Regions from separate parts of the Homo sapiens genome. Here all the other regions are linked to region 2. Evidence: promoter capture Hi-C in 16 types of primary human blood cells and fetal thymus (Javierre and others, 2016). All regions are on one chromosome and are shown on one strand. The core of a region is centred on a gene start or on the middle of the fragment in contact, and the rest is flanking DNA. Distances in the headings are between cores, read along the strand shown.

Region 1 (4,634 bases), core at 1,514-4,013, 300 kb before region 2:
GATTTTTCACTGCTTTCTTTATGGAAACCTTGACAGCACATGGGAACATATTTCTTATTAGTTTTTTTTTTTGTCTGTTTGGGGTTTTTGATTTTTAGCTGGGTTTTTGTTTTGTTTTGCCTCACCTACTGTCACCAGGATTCAGTGGCTGTTAATATACATAAGTATTTTCTAATTATGTACAAATAATATGTTTTGTATATACATCATAGGAGGGTGATACATATCAGTATAAAATCTCTCAAATCAGTAAAGATCAGGACACAAAGTAAAACCTCCCTGTTCCTCCAGTTTTCTTGCTCCGTTTCTCTCAACATTTCCTTCCTGTAAACTCATTATATTTTTAGGTCCTATGACAAGTGTTTCTCAATGTGTATATAGTCCATGAATGACCCCAAGTCAAAATCTTCTATTAAACACAGAATCCCAGCCAGGTGCGGTGGCTCACGCCTGTAATCCCAGCACTTTGGGAGGCCAAGACGGGCGGATCACGAGGTCAGGAGATTGAGACTATCCTGGCTAACACGGTGAAACCCCATCTCTATTAAAAATACAAAAAATTAGCTGGGCATAGTGGCACATGCCTGTAGTCCCAGCTACTCGGGAGACTGAGGCAGGAGAATGGCATGAACCCAGGAGGCGGAGCTTGCAGTGAGCCGAGATCGTGCCACTGCACTCCAGCCTGGGTGACAGAGCAAGACTCCATCTCAAAAAAAAAAAAAAAAAAAAACATAATCCTAGAGCCAGGTGCCATGGTGCACGCTGATATTCCAGCTACTTGGGAGGTTGAGACGGCATGATCACTTGAGCCCAGGAAGGTGAGACCAGCCGAGGCAACATAATGAGACAATATCTCCAAAAACAAAGAAACAAACATATAATCTAAGTTATGGTGCTTTATACATAGGGTACTGAAAAACTCCCTCAGTGTTGGGTATCTCTGAAATAAAGAATTAGTATAAACATCTATTGTTTTCTATCTTTTGATATTAAAAGATAGAATTCCAAGCAGCCAATAGAATACTGAAGTATCTTTTAATGAACTAATAAGGATTGATCTTTAAAATATATGGTGAAGTGGCTGGGTGCCGTGGCTCACGCCTGTAATCCTAGCACTCTGGGAGGCTGAGGCAGGCAGATCGCTTGAGCTCAGGAGTTCAAGACCAGCCTGGACAACATGGTGAAACCACATCCCTACCAAAAAAAAAAAAATACAAAAAATTAGCTGGGTGTCATGGTGCATGCCTGCAGTCCCAGCTACCTGGGTGGCTGAGGTGCAAGGATCATGTGAGCCCAAGAGGTCCAGACTGCAGTGAGCTGAGATCATGCCACTGCACCCAAGCCTGGGTGACAAAGTGAGATCCTGTCTCAAAAAAAAAAAAAAAAAAAAAAAAATATATATATATATATATATATATATATGTGGAAAAAAGTATATAACAGCACTTGTCATAAGAGAAAAGAATGTATTTTATGTGATTATCTGTGTACTGAATGTCCCTAGCAGAACATGTGAGAAAATGGCAGCAGGAATTGCCACAGGGGTGAGAGACCTTACTTTTGATTGTATATCTTTTCTCTTAATGAATTTTACATTATGCACATGTTATCCTTTTTTTTTTTTCTTTTGAGACACAGTCTCACCCTGTCACCCAGGCTGGAGTGCAGTGTCAGACCCCTCAATCTCCGCCTCCTGGGTTCAAGCCATTCTTGTGCCTCAGCCTCTCGAGTAGCTGGGGTTACAGGCAGGCACCACCACACCCAGCTAATTTTAGTAGAATCAGGGTTTCACCATGTTGGCCAGCCTGGTCTCAAACTCCTGACCTCAAATGATCTGGCCACCTTGGCCTCCCAAAGTACTGGGATTACAGGCCTGAGCCACTGCTCGTGGCCTGTGTTACCAATTTTTAAAAAGTAATAACCTGGTGGAGAAAGCCGATTCCTATCTTGTACCCAAGACTTGCTAAATTGAAATCTCTCACATGGAGCCTGGAGACGTGCATTTTTAACAAGCTTCTTTATTCTTCTGCAAACTGGTATTGAGAAGCACTGTCCTTGGCCTTTCCTTTTTAAACACTTCTTTCCTCTTTTTTTCCTCTGAACTTCCTACCATCACCACCACCACCTCTTCTCCTCCCTCATTTCCTCATCCATGGTGGATCTCATAGTTTTGCAATTCAATCATTCCACAGCTAGTGATTTTTCACTCTTTTCTCCCCAACCTTGCCATCGGCCAAAACCATGGCACTGGATGGATTTGCTTTCTCTGCCACCAGCATGCAGGCTAGCACTTTCCAGGTTGTGACCCTAACTGTTACCTGGAGTCCTCCTGGCAGTTCTCCAGTTCTCACTCAGCACTTCTTGTGTCTTTATTAATGACTTTTAAAATCTCACCAACGTCTTTCATACAACCCACACCACCCTCTCTCCCACAGAAAACATAGAGGGTATCAGACAGTAATTCCTCAGTTTCCTGCCCCCCCAACTTATAAATTTATTCATATGTACAGTCATCCTTTGTTTTCTTTTTTCCTTTTAAGGTGTTGTTCTGCCTAAGAAAATGGCTTCACCTGTGCTCTCCACCCCACCACCTAAACCCTACTGGGTTTGTTAACCTTGGTCCCTCAGGTACCACCAGCTTTTCCTTTCTGCTGGCACTTTCCTCCAGCCCAGAAACAGGCACTCTTATCCTCAGGGCTACTTCCTCCTCTCCCTCACAGCCAACTTTCTTAAGAGTGAAACAGTGTCTTTCACCTGCCTTGACCTTCGCTGTCATCCCTGCTTCTGCCCACATCATCAATGATTTCCTAGTTGCCATATCCAGCAGGCATTTTTCAGTCCCCGGCTTATTTAATCTCTTTGCTTCCAGGTCACTGCTCCTTCTTCCTGGTTTCCTCCTCTCTAATTACCCTAGACTTGAGTCTCCTTTATGGAATCCTCATCTTCCCTCTACTTCTCAGGATTGTCAGAAAATAAATAAGGGGGAAAAATCCCATCATCCACTTCAGGATTCTTTTTGATCCAGAAGATGATGAGACAGCCTCCCAACCTGAATTATGTAGTGACCCTCAGCCTGTGGAATGACTAGGAAATGAAAACAAATTCCTTATGAGGGGTGATTAGAAATATGACACCTCAAAAATATTGTGAAAAATCATGGTCTGAAGAACAGAAAAATGAGCTCTGCTTTAAACATGACAACTGTATTCTAAATTTGCTTTTTGGGTTTTGTTTTAAATCCCTCAGTCCTAATAGCCTCGAGTTTACTAGGAATTCTTAAATTTCCTAATCTCTAATTTATGCAGAGGTTTTATGAGCATGTATTTATTTATCTATCCACTCTTCCTTTGGACTTGTATTTTGAAAACCTGACAACTTATTGAGAGTTTGCTTGGGCCAGCCTCTCCACCATTTTACATCCAATTGGTCTTTTGTATTTAGTTTTTCATCCTAAAAGTAACACATTCATGGTATTTTTATCTGAGAAAATATAGGAAAGAGAGAGAAAGCTTTGTTAATAGGCCCACTGCCCAATCACAACCAGTGTAAATGTGTGATAACTTTTGTCCTGGTCTCTCCAGCCCTTCCTCCCTCTGCTTCTGTACTATATTCTAATTGGAGTTCAGAGCCTGATTTGGAAAGTTTTTATATCAACACATGCCATGTGCTTTGGCAGTTTGCTAAGTCTGAGAAACTTCAGAGACATTTTTTCCTTCTGACTTACCCATGTGTTTCACTTAGATTCTTGGAAACATTCTCTGTGCTACATGGCTACTAGCCTGCAGTTTCAAGTAACAGAAAATTCTATACAAACTCACATCGACAATAAGGAAAATGATCACTTCATACAACTGGAAGTCCAGGAGGCAAGCAGGCTTCAGGAGCAGCTGAATTTCGTGGCTCTGGATCTCTCTCTCTGCAATGCCCTGTGATGACCTATGTGTGTTGGCTTTGGCCTTGGGTGGCTTCTCTCATGGAGGCAAAATGGCTATAGCCATTACAGGTTTCACATAGCGATGCCATCAATTAGAAGTTCACCTAAGAGCAAGGAAATTTCCCTCCCAGGAACTTCCAACATACTTTTGGTTACATCCCTATTCTTGAGTTAATCCCTGTCCTCAGGGCACTGCCATACACTGACTCATTCTAGCCTGGGTTCCTGAACCAATTACTGCCCAGGGGAATGGAATTACCCTTAGATCAGTCAGTCCCAAATGTGAACTGAGGCTTAGGGGATATGCTGGGAGGGATAAATGCCTACATAAAACTGGACTGTGTCAGGAATCAGAGAGGAAGAATAGATGTTGAATGCCTGTTTCAGAACACCGTCATCAACAAAGCATGTTGTCAGATTTTTGGATCTTTGGTAATTTGATAATTGAAAAACGATGTCTCCATGTAGCTTTAATTTGAATTTCTCTATTGTGAGTGAGGCTGAGCCACTTGCATGTGCCTAGGAGTCATGTGTACTTTTTTTCCTCAGGTCTTGCCTGTTCATATTCTCTGCCCATTTTTCTTTTCTTTTTTTAAATTTTAACTCTTATTTCAGATTCAGGGGGTACATGTGCAGGTTTGTTACAAGAATATATTTCCTGTTACTGCAGTTTGGTATATGATTGAGCCTGTCACCCAGG
Region 2 (4,933 bases), core at 807-3,306:
AGAACCTTTGTGGCATTCTACTCATTCAAATCTTTTAATAGCTTCCTATGTTCTTTGAATAAAAAATAAATTATTGACCAGGCTCTCTATCATCTGGCCCCTGCCTTCATTCCCAGTCTCTTTTCCCATCATTCATCCTTCACTCATACAACCCGGCTTACACTGGCCTTTCTGTGGTTCTCAGACCAACCCCTTTCCCACTGTAGGGTCCATGGTCCCCTCTGTCTGATATGCTTGTGCCCCAGCTCTTCACATGAGTGATTTGCTTTCATCTTCCAGGTCTCATCTCAGGTATCACTTCCTCAGAGAGGCCTGTCCTGACTGTCCTACCCAAAGTGGCTTCCTCCCTATCTTGTCTTCTCTTGTTTTTGTTACCACACTTTTTAATTTATATTTCTTTATTAACTGAAACAATTAATATAAAAGAAATAGAGATGGGATCTCGCTATCTTGACCAGGCTGGTCTCCAGCTCCTGGGCTCAAGCAATCCTCCCATCTTGGCCTCCCAAAGTGCTGGGATTACAGGCGTGAGCCACCTTGCCCTGTCTTCCTCAAGTTATCTTTCTAAAATGGAAGCTTGATCACATTTCTCCCATTGCCTACAAAATAAAGGTTGAGCTTCCAGGTCTTATTTACCATGCATACCATATGTTTTATTATCTACAGATCTGCATTCTGTCACTATTCTTCCTAATCTCCTTCTAGCCTAATCAAAACACAAGGAAACAAAAAACTAGAAAAACAAAACAAAAAGCTTTATGGATCACACTTTTTATTGGACACGATACTCTTCCTTTTTGCAATGTCCTCCCACTAGGCTCCCAACCAGGCCCTCCTGAAAAATTCTCTCTCAAAACTTTACTCTGTGCATGCACATACTTCTGTTGGGACACCTATTTTATACATACCATCTCAGGCAGAAAATTCCCAAACTGAAATGTACAGGCAACGTACTTTTATTCTACGGAGTTAACAAATTTTTAATTCCTTGTCTATGAGGTTGAAAATCCCAATTAAATTTCTGGTCTTCCCCTCTTGCTCCTGGGTTGTGGTTAAATTCTTGGGGAGTCTTCACAGTACCTAAGTTTTGGAGAAGATGTAGGCACCCGCCCTCATCCCTCCTTCAGATTTTGGCATCCTCTTCCTAGTATCTGTGTGTTGTTTGCATATTTCTGTATCGTTTTGCTTTTACAGAGCCACACTGAAGCTTGAGAATCTGAGGCTTTCTGTAGCTTCCCCGTACACAGAATCATTCCCTCTTTGGAGCCTTGCTACCTACTCCAGACTACTTGGAATGCAGACATTTGCTCATTACTCTGGGACCCAGGGGTATTCCCTTTCTCTTAATCTTATTAATATTTCACTTCAGAAGCATTTCCTGTGTTGTGAAATTTTTCTCAGAGGCTTCTTTAATTGGTTTAGATTTTTAATGGATTTAGTCACATAAAAGCCAATGACTCCCAAATTCTTAAGTCCTGTCCCATCCCAATACCTGAGGCAGGGAGAAAAATATAAATGACCATCGTTCCTAAATCTGATAGCTCAGTGGATACACCCGGGGAGCTTTTAAAATTAAGAGACACTCCCAAGCACAACTCTACAGCATCAGAATTTGTTTTCTTGACGATCACAGACGATCAAGGCAGAATTCTTCCATCAGTGGTGGGCGTGGGGCGGGACTCCACTCGGTCTTTCTGTCCTCTAAGTCTTCTAATTTTTTTCCCAGTAATCCGCCCTCCCGTTCTCCTTCTTTGGCCCATCCCTCTTCTAGTCTTTCCCTGCTCCCCTGCACCAATCTTTCTGCGTCCCGTCCCCTCCCATTCCCCTACCCCACCCCACCCCACCCCACCCCACGTTTCCCGCCTCCCGCGCCTCTCCCGCTTTCCGCCCCCTCGCGTCTCCTCCCCTCCCACCCGCACCTCCACCCCCTGCCTCTCTCCTGCCCGCCCCGCCCCCTCTTCCGCTCTACGTCCCTCCTCACCCATGCGCACTCTCTTCAACCCGCTGCTTCCGGCGGCCTAGGCTTACGTTTACTTTGCGCCGGAAAGAGAACCTGTAAACGCTCTCGGAATTATGGCGGCGGTGGATATCCGAGGTATACTGTATTGCTATATTTTGTCTCTTGATTGTCTGTGGACCAGTTTGGGATGTTATAGCTCGCGGTTTCAAGGTTTAGGTTCCTTTGTGTGAAGTCTCAAGCTTTTTTGAGTGGTTTTTGTGGACAACCCAAGGCTGTGATCTAGCGAAACGTTGACGAGTTTTTTTTTTTTTCTGAGTTCTTGGAGCGTCTCTTGGAAGCGTCGGAGAGAAGGGGTTGGAAGAAGCTCTGGGTTTTGAGCTTTCAGAGCTGGAGTTTTGTTCTACACACGTATCTCTGCAACAACATTAGGGCTATTCTATTGGAGTGAAGGAATGGCGTTTAGGCAGAGAAGGGAATGGGGTAATAAGCCAACTTGATTTGATTCATCTCTTGGGACTTGGCATGGTGGCTGCCTAATTCTTTAGACCGCGCCACACGGGTCCCTGAGCATGAATCCCAGATATTTTCTTTTTTTTTGAGTCGATAATACTTTACATCGAACGTCCAGCAATTATTATGGGCAGGGGTCGTATTTTTTTCACAGCTGAACTGCAGAAGTACTCAAATATTGAATCAGTCAGTGAATAAATGTATGGAGATGTCACCCCTTAACTGCTGCTTGATCTTGGGGAGCATGTAGAGTTGTTTTTGTGTATATAGTACTTGATTTTTAAAGGGAGATGTTTGAGATGCCTTTTTTTAATATTAACTGGATTGGGGTCTAACACATTTATTACAAATATTCTCATTTATACTTATCTGGCGATCTGCAGCACTTCTGGATCATGATTTTACATACGTGTCTTTCATTATTTATTTCATCACTTGCTGATGGTTAGAATGCTGTTAGAATGCTTGGGCTATGTCAACATGTTGCCTTGCTACAGAATAAAAAAGAGAAATATTTAGTTTATAAAATGTTTTACTTATAATTCAGATTGTTAGGATCATGGCAAAGACTCTAAAATAAGAGTGTGTTTGGTGTGTTAAAGGAACAGCAAGGAGGTCAGTGTGGCTGGAGGGTAGTGAGAGAGGATGTGGGAAGGAGATGAAGTCAGAAAGGTGTTGAAAGCTATGATAAGGTCTTTGGCTTTTCCTCTGAGTAAAACGCAGAGCCATTGGAGGGGTTTCCATCAGAGGAATGATGTGATCTGACTTTTTTTTAGGACTACATTGGCTGCTGGGAACAGTGTAGGAGGGCAAGGGTAGAATTAGGAAAACCAGTTAGGAGGCCATTTCTGAAAATGTTATTTCCTGGCCTGTTGTGTATTTGGTTATTGCATGATCCAGTTATGATGAACTATCTAAATGGTCTATACTAATTATTTGGTTATTAACGCACTTCATCTGTCTCCTCCTTTATTTTATAGCACACAAAGTACATTTTACCTTTATATAATTTTTCTCGGTTGAGTCACTTGGCTCAAAACTGCCTGTCACCTTGAATTAGGTCTGACTTCTTTGAAGATGCCTGAGGTAATGACAGTATAAGAGAGATTGAAGTTTTTCAACCAGTATTGTATAGGCATTTTGATGTTCATGATTTACACCTAGTGGTGTTCAGTACAGTCAGTGGTATGAAGCATCATGAAAGCCAATAGCCAATACAAGCTCATTTATTAAAAGTATCTAGCTCTATCATGTCTTTTTAAAAGCTATGATTTAATTCTACGCTAAATATGAAACCGTGTGGCTGTAGTTAAGGGAACTCTACTTCCTGTTTATCCCTTAGCTTTTACATCATTATCATCTCATCTACAATAATAGCTTCCTAACTTCTCTATCCCTAATTGAGAGATCTCAAACTGGTAGCTATAGATGTGTTCTCTTGGGCATACATGTTATTTGAAAATTTTGAATTCCTTGCCAGCATTAAGGATTTCCAATAAAAAAAAAAGTCCTTTCTAAATTTTAAATCTTATCACTTCTTCACCTAATGAAATTATTCTCTAAAGATATAATATACTTTATATTTTTACACCTCTGTATATACATTCTCTCTGCTTGGAATTACTTTGCCCTTTTCTCTGTGTAAGTTTTTATTTATTCTTTAACATACCGTGCTAAAACCCACCTTCTCTCCACATGAAAAATGATTTTCGTTTCCCCAGGTCCTCTGTAGTCTCGTAACACATTTCTTCATGTCTTTTTTTTTTGAGACGGAGTCTCGCTCTGTCGCCCAGGCTGGAGTGCAGTGGCGCGATCTCAGCTCACTGCAACCTCCGCCTCTTGGGTCCAAGTGATTCTCCTGCCACAGCCTCCCGAGTAGCTAGGATTACAGGTGTCCACCACCATGCCCGGCTAATTTTTTGTTTTGTTTTTTTTCTTTTTTTGAGACGGAGTTTCACTCTTGTTGCTCAGGCTGGAGTCCAATGGTGTGATCTCGTCTCACCACAATCTCCGAGACCTTCTGGGTGCAAGCGATTCTCCTGTCTCAGTCTCCCAAGTAGCTGGGATTATGGGCATGCACAAACACGCCAGGCTAATTTTGTATTTTTAGTAGAGACGGGGTTTCTCCATGTTGGTCAGGCTGGTCTCAAACTCCCAACCTCAGGTGATCCACCTACCTCAGCCCCCTAAAGTGCTGGCATTACAGGCTGAGCCACCGCACCCGGCCAGAATTTTTTGTATTTTTAGTAGAGACAGGGTTTCACCATGTCTTTATCATAAGACTTAATCATGTTATTGCTTTCTTGCATAATCTCTTCTGTTACATCATGAGAGTGTGTTGGTTAGGATCTATGTCATCCTTATATTCATAGTGCCTACTACATTTGATGTATAATAAATGTTTGTTGGATTGGATTCTTTCTATTTTTCTAATCCTTTATCATTTTGTTTTCTTTCCCATAG
Region 3 (4,303 bases), core at 1,633-4,132, 280 kb before region 2:
TAGCTGGGACTACAGGTGCACGGCACCAAGCCCAGCTAATTTTTGTATTTTTAGTAGAGACGGGGTTTCACCATATTGGTCAGGCTTGTCTCGAGCTCCTGACCTCAGGTGATCCACCCACCTCGGCCTCCCAAAGTGGTGGGATTATAAGCGTGAGCCACCGCGCCCGGCCTATTTTTTCCTTTTTGATGGCCTTACAGTGCCTAGCAAAATGCCTTGCTCAGAGTAAGTGCTTGATATAAATTTATTAATCCATCAGCTGGATGGATGGATGGATGGATGGATGGATGGATGGATAGATGGATGGATGAATGGATGGATGGGAAGGAGGTTATAGGAATTGAGACTCTGGCTGAGCTTTTTTAGCCAGGTAGCCATGGCAGGAGAAAGGCTTCACCTTTCATGAGAGCGTATGGTCATAATCACAGAAGGGAAAGAATAGCTTGAACCATAGCTTGAACCAGTTAACCATGCTGCCAATAAAATCAGGCCACATGTGTTTACCATGTTTTATGTTTACCAGGCTGCATCAGTAGGATACTTTAAAATATGGGACAGAAATCCTGACTCAACCTCAAACTAGCTTTTATCATAAAGAAATGTATTGGCTCCAATGCAGGATGTCAAAGGCTGGGTAGGATTCAGGACTGGTGGATCCAGTGGCTCTTTGCATCTCTCTGCTGTGCTATCCCCAATGCTGACTTCATTCTGGGGAAAGATCCCTGGGTTTTGGAAGGCTTCCAGTAGTTGCTGGGTTAATTGCTTCCCTTTTCACCTCCTACTAACTTCCTGTGACTCTTTCTTAAGGGTAAGAAAGCATATTTTCCGGAAGTGTTTAGAAAACTCTTTATGACTCATTGGTCCCAATTGGCCTTGGCCTGCCTACCCCAGACCCATTCACTAGCAACGGGGATGGGGGTGGGGTTCACATCACTCAGGACCCACCCTAGAGCTGCAGTAGAACCTGTGATGGAGAGTCACTCCAACACCCCTTACACAGCAGACAGTTTTATGGGGGCCACTCCAATGAAAGGTTGGCTCTTAGGACCTTCTCATTTTAGACACGCAGTAAACAATGAAAAACATGTCATCCAAGAGATCTCATTGTCACGGATCTTACAATATATCTCTTGCCTAAGAGTCTTCCGGTGTTTCTTGTGCAAATCCAGCGGTTAGTCAACAGGGTTTATGGAACACATGCTGTTTAGATAGTGTTACTCTAAGCACTGTACAAAGTTAGAAAAACAAGACAATGCAGCTACTTAAAAAAAATTTTTTTTAGAGACAAGGTCTTGCTCTGTTGCCCAGGTTAGCTTCAAACTCCTGGGCTCAAGCAATCCTCCTACATCAGCCTCCTTAGTCACTGGGATTATAGGCGTGTGCTGCACTGCCTGGCTTATTTTTTTTTTAACAGTAGAATGAGCATTGAGGAAAGTAGTTCTCTTCTGTTAATTCTGCTCCGTTATTTTCCAGAGTGTAGAAACTGCTTGATTTCCTTCCTCCTTTCTTTGTCCCCTCTTATTCAGCTCTCTCTTTCCTGTCACTAATTTTCTCCTTTCTTATTCTTTCCTCATTTCAGGAAAGCAACATAGCGGAGATTAGGAGTGTAGAATCTGGAGTTAGATTTCTTGGGTGGGAATTCTCACTTTGAGTTCTAGCTGTGACTTTCCAGCCGTTACTTCATTTCTCTAAGCTTCTTTTCACTGGTAAATCATGTCTAAACATTATGCCTACCTCCTTGGGTTATTCTCGAATTTTAAAAATGATGCACATTAAAAATGATTACTAATGGTTAATGATTTTAATTTTCTTCTTCATCTTTTTTTAATTATGCCACATTTTGTGTCCTGTTCCTCCCTCCTACATCCCACAGTGATAGGCTGATAGAAAATAGTCAGAAATAGAGTGCACAGAATCAACTTCCTAGTGAGAAATGGAATGGAACCATTTCAGTTCCTTCTCTTTTCTTCATTATACTTCGAGTATTTAAAGAGTGCTATGTGAATACATTTAAGGCAATGGAAATGTACAAAACCAGTTGAGAGGAACACATATGTGGTACATATGGAAGCGGAAGTATGAATGCTCTGTTCTGCATAAGAATCCCCCAGCTCTCAGTTGCTTCATCGAGGCCTGGTTTGTTCAATTGGTTAGAGCACCTTCTGATGTAACCAAGATCACGGTTTCAATTCCAGAATGTGGTGAGCCTACTTTATCTATTTGATGGCTACAGCCTCCTCTGCTGAACCTGGCAACCATCTGTAAATGCATCCATTGTTTAGAAAATGATCAATCAGAGGAGCCCGGTTGAAGCAATGCAAATCAATCACCTTACTAGGAAACAACACGACAACAGAAAGTACATGCTATCATGGTGGTGGGTTAACTGTATGATGTTTGTACATGAAGAAGGCATAGACCATGACATCATTATAGAGTTCATGGAAAACAAATAGGTTTGAAGCTATAGGTTCCACAGCAATTCACAGCCTATAAAAAAGATTACTGCTACGTCCCTTGTTTTTAAGGCCCCCAGCTCTTCTTAGAGACCATTTAGAGAATAACTGCCTGTTCCTCTAGACTAGACTCAATTGCTAGAAGTATCTCATATGGGAAGACTTTCCTGACATCTTGTTCTCCTCTTCTCAACTTAATTTCTCTCCAACCTCCACCCCTTCTAGAATTATGTGCTCTCTTTACTATGCTCCTTTTATGTCACATAATGATGGTTACTATCTAAGTCAGCTTAGGCTGCCATAGCATAACATGTTATGGCACTGGGTGACATAATACCCAGTCTATGTTATGGATTGGGTGGCTTAAACAACAAAAATTTATTTTCTGACATGTCTGGAGGCTGGAAGTATGAGTATCAAGGTCCCAGCACGGTCAGGTTCCTGTAAGGACTCTCTCCTTGGCTTGTAGATGGCTGCCTTCCCTCTGTGTCCTCACATGGTGGAGAGAGAGAGAGAGAGAGAGAGAGAGAGAGAGAGGGAGAGAGAGAGAGAGAGAGAGAGAGAGAGACTGCAAGCTGTCTGCTATCTCCTCTCATAAGGGTACTAATCCCATTATGAGGACTAATATGGTTTGGATGTTTGTGCCATCCCAATCTCTTGTTGAAATGTGATTCTCAGTGTTGGATGTGGGGCCTGGTGGGAGGTGATTGGATCATGGGGGTGGATCCCTCATGAATGGCTTAGCACCATCCCCTTGATGATAAGTAAGCTCTTGCTCTGAGTTCATGTGATATCTGGTCATTTAAAAGTGGATGGAGGCTAGGTGCGGTGGCTCACACCTATAATCCCAGCACTTTGGGAGGCCGAGGCAGGCAGATCACAAGGTCAGGAGTTCAAGACCAGCCTGGCCAATATGATGAAACCCCGTCTCTACTAAAAATACAAAAATTAGCCAGGGATGGTGGCGGGTGCCTGTAGTCCCAGCTACTCAGGAGGCTGAGACAGGAGAATCACTTGAACCGGGGAGGCAGAGCTTGCAGTGAGCTGAGATCGCGCCACTGTACTCCAGCCTGGGTGACAGAGCGAGACTCCATCTCAAAATGATAATAATAACAATAATAATAAGTGAAAGTGTATGGCACTGTCCTCCTCTCTCTTGCTCCCACTCCCACCATGTGATGTGCCGGCTCCTCTTCCTTTCTGCCATGATTTTAACTTCCTGAGGCCCTCACCAGAAGCAAATGCCAGCTCCATGCTTCCTATACAGCCTGCGGAATGGTAAGCCAAATAAGCCAAATACCCCTCTTTTCTTTATAAATTATCCACAACTTCATGTATTTCTTTATGGCCACACAAGAATGGCCTCGTACAAGAACCTATCTGGTAACCTCATCTAAACCTAATTCCTTCCCAGAGGCCCCATCTCCAAATACTATCGCATTGTGGGCTTGGGTTTCAATGTATGAATTTGGGGGGACACAATTCAGTACATAACAGTTACAATTCTTTTTGCAGCAATGCATGTTACTTTGATATGAGTGATATCCATGTAACACGGAAGACACACTGATGCATACATGATTTTCCTAGCAACTTAATATCAGGGTAAGCTTTTCTACATTTGCAGAAAAAGCCTTAGCCATATATGAATACCTTCAGAACAGACTGAAATTGATAGTGCAAGTTCTGCTTGGTTTAATGGCTTTGAGTATTGCTGCCCTTTCCACCAGTTAAACTATTCGGGGAAACTAAGAGTATAATGATGGAGTTGTGAAAACATTTCCCTCTATAGATACATTGAACAAAAGAAAGAGGCTACGCCATGGATCATTCAAAAATTTTTGAAG

Evidence for each region. The method cuts DNA at HindIII sites, captures the fragments that hold promoters and counts their contacts. A CHiCAGO score of 5 or more calls a contact.
Region 1: a contact is called between a fragment that was not itself captured here and the fragment with the promoter of MED6 in region 2, in 1 of 17 cell types (naive CD4 T cells). The highest score is 5.9, in naive CD4 T cells.
Region 3: a contact is called between a fragment that was not itself captured here and the fragment with the promoter of MED6 in region 2, in 3 of 17 cell types (naive CD4 T cells, total CD8 T cells and total B cells). The highest score is 5.7, in naive CD4 T cells.

What each region holds. Positions count from the first base shown.
Region 1 is chr14:70,896,739-70,901,372 of GRCh38, reverse strand. No RefSeq gene overlaps it. Among named protein-coding and RNA genes, the nearest start is that of PCNX1, 8.4 kb to the left of the region's middle. The HindIII fragment of the contact is 1,496 bases long and covers 2,016-3,511 here.
Region 2 is chr14:70,597,778-70,602,710 of GRCh38, reverse strand. It overlaps MED6 (mediator complex subunit 6), which reads left to right and starts at 2,056. Exons shown (of 8, transcript NM_005466.4): 1 at 2,056-2,095. The coding sequence starts at 2,074. RefSeq lists an enhancer at 1,355-2,554. The HindIII fragment of the contact is 992 bases long and covers 1,210-2,201 here.
Region 3 is chr14:70,879,821-70,884,123 of GRCh38, reverse strand. No RefSeq gene overlaps it. Among named protein-coding and RNA genes, the nearest start is that of PCNX1, 25 kb to the left of the region's middle. The HindIII fragment of the contact is 2,373 bases long and covers 1,696-4,068 here.